2 separate regions of the Homo sapiens genome follow, and region 2 is linked to region 1. Evidence: promoter capture Hi-C in 16 types of primary human blood cells and fetal thymus (Javierre and others, 2016). All regions are on one chromosome and are shown on one strand. The core of a region is centred on a gene start or on the middle of the fragment in contact, and the rest is flanking DNA. Distances in the headings are between cores, read along the strand shown.

Region 1 (3,995 bases), core at 755-3,254:
GTCCTGCTATAGATTGAGAGATGGGGCTTGTCATGGGAGTTACATAAGGAGAGGCAGGGAAACCCCCCTTCATGACGCATCCCCCATAAGCCAGGCACATGCTGGGGAAATGGTTGGTTTTAGGGAGAGTCACAGGCTCTCCTGGGACAGGTATCGTTCAGTTTTTCCTTACAACAACCACTATGAGGTCTTTTTAAAAATTATTATTACTATTTTCTCTACTTTACTGATGAAGAAGCGGAGGCTCAGAGAAGCTAAGTAATGTACCAAAGATCACACAGCTGGTAAGTGCTGTCATTCGGGTTTGAACCCAGCTCTCCTCATCTCTAAGTCCTCAGTTCCTTTTTCTATAACACCACAGGCTGAGCAAAGGCAAGAATTCCAGGTAGAAAATCTGCTTACCCCTCTTGCTCCCACAGTGACAACAAACATGGTGCTTCATTGGGCCTCAGGTTACTCATCTGTAAAATGGGAATAACCATTATGCCTATCCTTTAGGATTCAATGGGATTACGACTATAACATAGCTTTGTGCACAGTATTCAAGAAATGAGAGCTATTATTCCCAGATGGTTGTTTTCATTTTACAGATTAGAGGGCATGTAAGATTCCCTTCATTTCCATAGACTCTAAAGAGCAAAGGCTGAAGTCTGGATTCAAAGCAATACATAAGAAATTCCAAAGTTCACTTGAGCTTCTTCTTCATTTCAGTCTGAGATAAGAAAAAGGAAGATGGCATTTCAGGCAGGTGGAATGAGTAGGCAAAGACATGAGATGGGATTAGACCTGTGCAAATAGGGTTGGTATGGGGAAGCACGATGACATCAGATTTTAGCCACTTTTGGGAGTGGCATCTTAAATGCCAAGGTGAGCTATCAGGGCTTCAATCCAACGTTCAGGCTCAATGTCAGGGGAGCCTGCCACATGCCAGAGTCTGTGCCTGGCAGAGCTGAGCCCTGGCACACGCACTGTTTACAGCTGCCTGGTATGGCAGTGGTGATATCACCCTTAGAGACTTTGCCCTCTTCTCTCTGACCCAACCTTCAACCACTGGGGCAGTAGGTTATGCATTGCCTAGAAGGCAACTGTAAGATTCAGGGGCTGCTATGGATGCATTACCCAGGAGATAAGGGCAACCTCAGGTGGGCCGGGGCCCTCACAGCAACCTTACGAGAGGGGTTGTATCATGCCCATTTGATGGAAGAGAAAACTAAGATTCCATTAGAATTGATGTGACGTATCCTAAATCACACAGCTGCAGCAGGACTAGGATTTGAATGCGGGTCAATCTGCCTCCAACACTACTGCCTTTTCCTCCATGCTGGATTAGGCTATTGGCTTCTGAAAGCACAGACAGGTGAGATGGGTCAAACATGGCCTGAAGCACCCAGGCACAGGTGGGAGATGGCAAGCAGAGGCAGGTTCAAAACGTGGGGCCAGGACTGGTCTGAAAGATAGTCGTTAAATAGCACTGAGGAGAGGGAGTGAGAGAGATGTGGGTCTTGGGGGAGTGGGGTCTTGAGAACCCTGAAATCAGCAGTGTCTGCCCACTTTGCCCTGGACCAGCCTCTCTGTCTGTATCCTTCCCCCAGAGAAAGGACCATGGGCTGACCTGGGCCAAGGACACCTGGCTGGAGCCCCTTCTCTGACATTAACTAGCTCCGTGACCTGGGGAAAGCCACCCTCCCTCCTGAGCCTCACTTTTCCTGTCTGTAAAATGGCCTCCCCGTCATCACACCCACACAGGTGTCTTGAGGAGTGAATGATGGTGTGCTCCAAGGCCCCCATGGAGAGCCCGGCACATGGCAGGCACTCGGTGTTCAAGCACTGTGTTCCCATAGACTCTGGGCTCCTGCCCTCCTCGCCCCCAACCCCCTTCCTAGGAACCAGCCCCGGCTTGTCAGAGAGCCAGCTAGCTGTCAACCCCACCCCAGCTGGCCAGTTAATGAGTGACCAGGACTCCTGAGCCTGACCTATAAGGAGGTGCTAGGCAGGGACACAGATGGGAGACGGTGGACAGCGGCAGGGGGAACCCAGGGAGCGCGATGGGCTGCAGGGCTGCATCAGGGCTCCTGCCAGGAGTGGCCGTGGTCCTCCTGCTGCTGCTGCAGAGCACACAGTCAGTCTACATCCAGGTGAGTCCCTTGGCCAGCGTTCCCTTTGCCTGAAGGGCCCCATGGTGGGAGGCTAGGCTGGAGAGGGTGTACTGGGAATTCAGAGGGGCACCGGGGGAGCACGGGGCCCGGGGCTCAGCCCAACACCCATCACAGCCCAGAGACCAAGGCAGCTGGTGGGTGGGGGCAGCCAGATGTTGATGGCAGTGATGATGGCAATGACAACACCAAACTGATTCAGCGCTGCTCCCCTCAAAGGCCCGTGCTGGTCACAGAGGTCAGGGTGTGGAACAGAAGGCTCCTCCTTGCATGGGAGGAGGCCAGAAAGGGAAGGAGACACCCTGTTATGCTCCCACAGTTCCGTATATTCACCCACATGTAGGTGGAGGAGGACAGGCTCCAGAAAAATTTTCCTGAGAAGTAACCCTTGAGCTGGCATTGCAAGATGAACAGGAGGTTGCCAGACACAGATGATGGGGAAACTGTTCCAGGCCAAGGGGCACAGCATGTGCAAAGACCAGATAGAAGACTATGGGGGTTCCAGTGCCCTTCCAGGGGGCATGGGAGAGTGGCAGTAGTCGTCACAGCAGGGCCTGTCTGCCACGTCACAGGGGATGCTGCTGGCCTCGCCCAGCATAGCAGAGACGTCTGTGGCCCTGGGTGTCACATCCCTGACTCTGGGCATGGTCTCCTTGGGAAGAACAAAGTGGGTCCCAGAGAGGGGTGCAGGAGACTTGGCCTCCCCAACAGCCCTGGCCTCAGAGACCAGCTACTTGGGGCTGCCATCACTCTGCCATGTGAGCTCAGGCAGGCGTACTCAGTTAGTGATTGTGCCCTGGTACCAGGCCCCCACGGGAGATGTCAGATGAGGGAACTGAGGCTGAGTGGGGAACAGACAGGCAGCCGGTCATGGGCAGAGGTGGGATTTGAACCAGGGCTTGTCTGTCTCTAAAGCCTCGAACCACTGTGCTCCACAGCCCCGCTGCTTCTTCCTCACACCTCTCACCGCAGCGGCTCTTTCCAGTGTGGCCCTGGACTTCCCATAGAGACGGGGAAGGCTCTGGAGGATCTGCAGGGTTTGAGCAACCCTGGGTGTCATGGCAGTGCCTGCCCCTGGACCAGGTCTTGACCTGCTCCTATCTCCTCTCCCCTGTCTGTAGTACCAAGGCTTCCGGGTCCAGCTGGAATCCATGAAGAAGCTGAGTGACCTGGAGGCACAGTGGGCACCCAGCCCCCGCCTGCAGGCCCAGAGCCTCCTGCCCGCCGTGTGCCACCACCCTGCTCTGCCTCAGGACCTTCAGCCTGTCTGCGCCTCGCAGGAGGCTTCCAGCATCTTCAAGACCCTGAGTAAGTGCCCCCGCTCCCTGCAGAACCTCGCTCTGTCTCCTCCCACGCCCAGGCTCCTCCACCTGGGTTGTTTCTCTTAAGCACCCAGCGGCTGAGGATGGGGAGATTCAAGTAACTCAGGCCCTGTCCCACTGGCTCCCAGGACTCCCCGGTTTGGGCACTGTGAGTCAGGCATGCCTGGAACCTGCTTCGTCCCCTTAGTCCACGCCAGGCACAGACCCATCAACAGACAATGGCTGCGTGGAGCAGAGAGGAGAGCTGGCTGACATCTGCGATGGGACAGGGGTGTGAAAGGCTTCCAAGAGGAGGTGTCAGCCAAGCTGAAACCTGAGGGATCGTGCAGAGCCAGGCACGAGAATGTAGCAACTAGCTAGCACTTACTGAGCACCTACTGTGTGCCGGGACTTGTCGGTCCTGCATTATCTCCTCACAGTGACCCTGTCCATTTAGCAAACAAGAAATCTCAGGCACAGGGAGTGTGAGTGACTTGCCCAGTGGCCGCTAGGAAGGAGAGCATCTGGGACTTGAACCCAA
Region 2 (4,135 bases), core at 1,448-3,947, 550 kb before region 1:
CAACCTGTTTATCTTAAATGGTCCAGGAAGTGCTTGTGGGTGAAAGAGCTTAGGGAAGAACAAAGCCTGAAATGAGAGTTGCGCAGGCCCAGCAGGCTTGTCTTCTGGCCATTTGTGTCCAGCCAGTCTCTCATCAACACCGCCTAAGAGAGACCCAAATTCCACATTTGCTGCAGTGGCCTGATCTCTTGTCAGTTTCTGGCAGGTCTCTAGTGGTTCCTTTGATGGCATTTTGTTTCTATACACGTGACTGTGGCACAAAAGGCACACCTACCTACAAGCTTCCTAGGTAGTTAAGGTTCTTGTGTCTACTATGGAGAGCAATACATAGAATACACAATAATATATACACACACACACTATAAGATGAACCACAGAAGAAAAAATGACTGGGAGACTGGGTGACATACAGAGTGTAGTCCAACAGAAGAGGTGGCGACTGCCTGTGGCTTCTGTCATTCTTGCCCACATGGCAGGATAGATATAACTGTATAGTAATGATAAAGCAGTTATAACGATCACTCTACTGCAACTCATTTCTTCATTTCTCCACTCAGTCTGCAAGTACTACGTGGGCCTTCTCAATGCCAGGCCAGTAAGATGAAAACAGACATAAATCATAGGCCTTACTATAAGCTACAGTAATCAAGACAGTATAGTATCGATACAAAGAGACACAAGAAGATCAATGGAAACAGAGTAGGGTAAGGAAACATACTCCCACACATACAGTCACATGATGTTATTTATTTATTTATTTATTTATTTAGGGACAGGATCTCATTCTGTTGCCCAAACTGGAGTGTAATGGCACAATTTCAGCTCACTGCAACCTCCACCTCCTGGGCTCAGGTGATTCTCCCACCTCAGCCTCCCAAGCAGCTGGGACTACAGACACGTGCCACCATGCTCGGCTAATTTTTATATCTTTTTTTAGAGATGGGGTTTCACCATGTTGGCCAAGCTGGTCTTGAACTCCTGGGCTCAAGTGATCCACCCACCTTGGCCTCCCAAAGTGTTAGAATTACAAGTGTGAGCCACCACACCCAGTCTCAGTCACCTGATTTACAAGAAAAATGCATCTGATAGAGAAAGTAATGGTCTTTTCAATAAATGGCGCTAAAGCTATTGGATATCCATATTAAAAAATGAACCTTGACCCCCGATATCATACCATACACAGAAAACGAATGTGAAATGAATAAATGATAGGCCTGAATACAAAAGATTAAACAATAAAGCTTGTAGAAGAAAACAAGAAAATATCTTCACGGAACTTGGGGTAGGCAAAGATTTCTTACTCGATTGACAAACGCGTAATCACATAATCATAAAGGAGAGAAGCTAAATTGTGCTTCATTAAAATTTAAAACTTCTGTTCAACAAAGACTCTAATAATAGAGTAGAAAGACAAACCATGGGTTGGGAGAGGATATTTGCAACACATGTTTGAAAACAAATTCCTAAAAATGAGTAAGAAAAAGGCAGTCAACGCACCTGAAAATGGCAAAAGTTAACTCAAAATGAATCAAAGACCTAAACTCAGAGATAAAACTATAGAACTCTTAGAAAACATAAGGAAGAAGCTTCATCACATTGGATTTGGCAGTAACTTCTTAGATGTGGCACCAAAAGCATACACAACAAAAGTACAAATAGATAAATTGCCTACATCAAAATTTAAAATCTTCTATGCGTGAAAGGACAACATCAACAGAGTAAAAAGACAAGAATGAGAGAAAACGCTTGCAAATCATATATCTGATAAGGGATTAACATGCAGAACTCCAAAACTCAACAACAAAAAGCCAAGCAAAACGATTTTTAAAAAAATGAGCAAAGGACTTGAAGAGACGTTTCTCCAAAGAAGATCTACAAATGGCCAAGAAGCACGTGAAAAGATGCTCACCATTACCAATTACTAGGGAAATGAAAAATCAAAACCACGAAGATACCACCTCACACACATTAAAATGGCTACAACAAAAAAAAGAAAAAGAAGTATTTGCAAGGATGTAGAGAAAGTGAGTGGAACTGTTGCACTCTGCTGGTAGGAATGTAAAACGGTGCAGCCTCTATGGAAAACACTGTGGTAGTTCCTCAAAAAATAAAAAATAGAATTACCATCTAATCCAGCAATTCCCCTTCTGGGTATATACTCAAAAGAATTGAAATCAGAGTCTCAAAGAGATATGTGTACATCTATGTTCATAGCGGCATGATTTACAACAGCCAAAGGTGGAAGCAATCCAAATGTCCATTGATGAATGAATGGATAAAAAATTCATTCATGTTGTAGCATGTGTCAGAATTTCCTTCTTTAAGACGGAATAATATTCCATTGTGTGTATGAAACTTGATGACATTATGCTAAGTAAGATAAGCCAGCCACAAATGAACAAATACTGCATAATTTCACTTATATGAAGTACTTAGAGTAATCAAATTCATAGAGACAGAAAGTCAACTGGTGGTTGCCAGAGGCTGTGGGAATGGGGGGCTGTTGTTTTATGGGTATACAGTTTCAGCTTTTCAGAATGAAAAGTAATCTAGAGATTGGTTGCGCAGCAATGTGACTGCTTAACACTACTGAATTTAAAATAGTAAAGTTGGTCAATGTTATGTCTATTTTACCACAATTTTTAAAATAGCAAAAGATTTTAACAGGCACTACAAGCAAGAGGTTATCTAAATGGTCAATAAGAATATGTCATGAAGTTTTCCCCTATGTTTTCTTCTAGAAGTTTTATGTCATAAAGTTTTCTCCTATGTTTTCTTCTAGGAGTTTTACAGTCTTAGGTTTTACATCCAAGTCTTTAATCCATTTTGAGTTGATCTTTATGTACGGTGATTTTTATGTATGGTTAATTTTTATGTAAGATAAGAATCCAATTTCATTCTTTTGCATATGAATATCCAGTTTTCCCAGCACCATTTATTGAAGAGACTACCCTTCCTCCATTGTGTTTTCTTGGCACCCGTGTTGAAGATCAGTCAGCATATATACTGGATTTATTTCGGGTTCTCTGTTCTGTTTCATTGGTCTACATGTCTGTCTTTATGTCAGTACCATACTGTTTTGATTAGTGTAATTTTTTATGCTTTGAAATTAGGAAATGTGAGGCTTCCAGCTTTGTTCTTGTGTCAGAGGATTGATTTGGCTATTTGTGTTTTTTGTGGTTCCATATAAATCACAGAATTGTTTTTTCTATTTAGGCAAAGTAATGTAATTGAGATTTTTATGGGGGTTTCATTGACTCTGTAGATTGTTTTGGGTAGTATGGACATGTTAACAATATTAATTCTTCCAATCCATGAACACAGGATGTCTTTCTCTTTGTTTGTGTCTTCTTTAATTTCTTTATTAAATGTTTTGTAGTTTCCAGTACACAAGTCTTTCATTTCCTTAGCTAAGTTCATTCCTAAGTATTGTTTTAGGTGTTATTATAAGTGACATTATTTTTCTAATTTTCTTTTCAGCTAGTTTGTTGTTAGTGTATAGAAATGCCACTGATTTTTGTAAATGATTTTGTATCCTGCAACTTTACTAAATTTGTTAATTAGTTCTAATACTTTTTAATGGCATCTTTAGGATTTTATATTATTTTGTCTGCAAACAGGAACAATTTTACTTCTTCCTTTCTGATTTAAATGTCTTTAATTTTTTTTCTTGCCTAATTGCTCTGGCTAGGACTTCCAGTACTGTCTTGAATAGAAATGGCAAGCAAGGGCATTCTTGCCCTTAGCTTCTTCCTGATTTTAGAGAAAAAACTTTTCCGTTTTTCACCACTGAGTATAGTATTAGCTGTAAGCTTGTTATATATGGCTTTTATTATGTTGAAGTACTTTCCCTCTAGTCTTAGTTTTTTGAGAACTTTGATCAAAAAGGGTGTGTTGAATTTTGTCAAATGCCTTTTCTGCATCTGTTGAGATGCTCATGTGATTTTAAGTCTTTATTCTGATAATGTGATGTATAACATTAATTAACTTTTGTATATTGAACCATCTTTGTATCCCAGGGATAAATCCCACTTGGTCATGGTGTATGATCCCTTTAATGCACTATTTGGTTTGATGTGCTAGTATTTTGTTGAGGATTTTTGCATCTATATTCATTAAGAATATTAGCCTGTAG

Evidence for each region. Contacts are between HindIII fragments. The CHiCAGO score rates a contact against its expected background, and 5 or more counts as called.
Region 2: a fragment that was not itself captured here is called in contact with the fragment with the promoter of GUCA2B in region 1 in 2 of 17 cell types (total CD4 T cells and neutrophils); the score reaches 6.7 in total CD4 T cells.

What each region holds. Positions count from the first base shown.
Region 1 is chr1:42,151,406-42,155,400 of GRCh38, forward strand. It overlaps GUCA2B (guanylate cyclase activator 2B), which reads left to right and starts at 2,005. Exons shown (of 3, transcript NM_007102.3): 1 at 2,005-2,135; 2 at 3,275-3,461. The coding sequence starts at 2,046. The HindIII fragment of the contact is 11,651 bases long and covers 1-3,995 here.
Region 2 is chr1:41,598,065-41,602,199 of GRCh38, forward strand. The region is part of intron 3 of HIVEP3 (HIVEP zinc finger 3); the gene reads right to left. The region is part of intron 1 of LOC128125817; the gene reads right to left. Among named protein-coding and RNA genes, the nearest start is that of EDN2, 120 kb to the left of the region's middle. The HindIII fragment of the contact is 2,226 bases long and covers 1,585-3,810 here.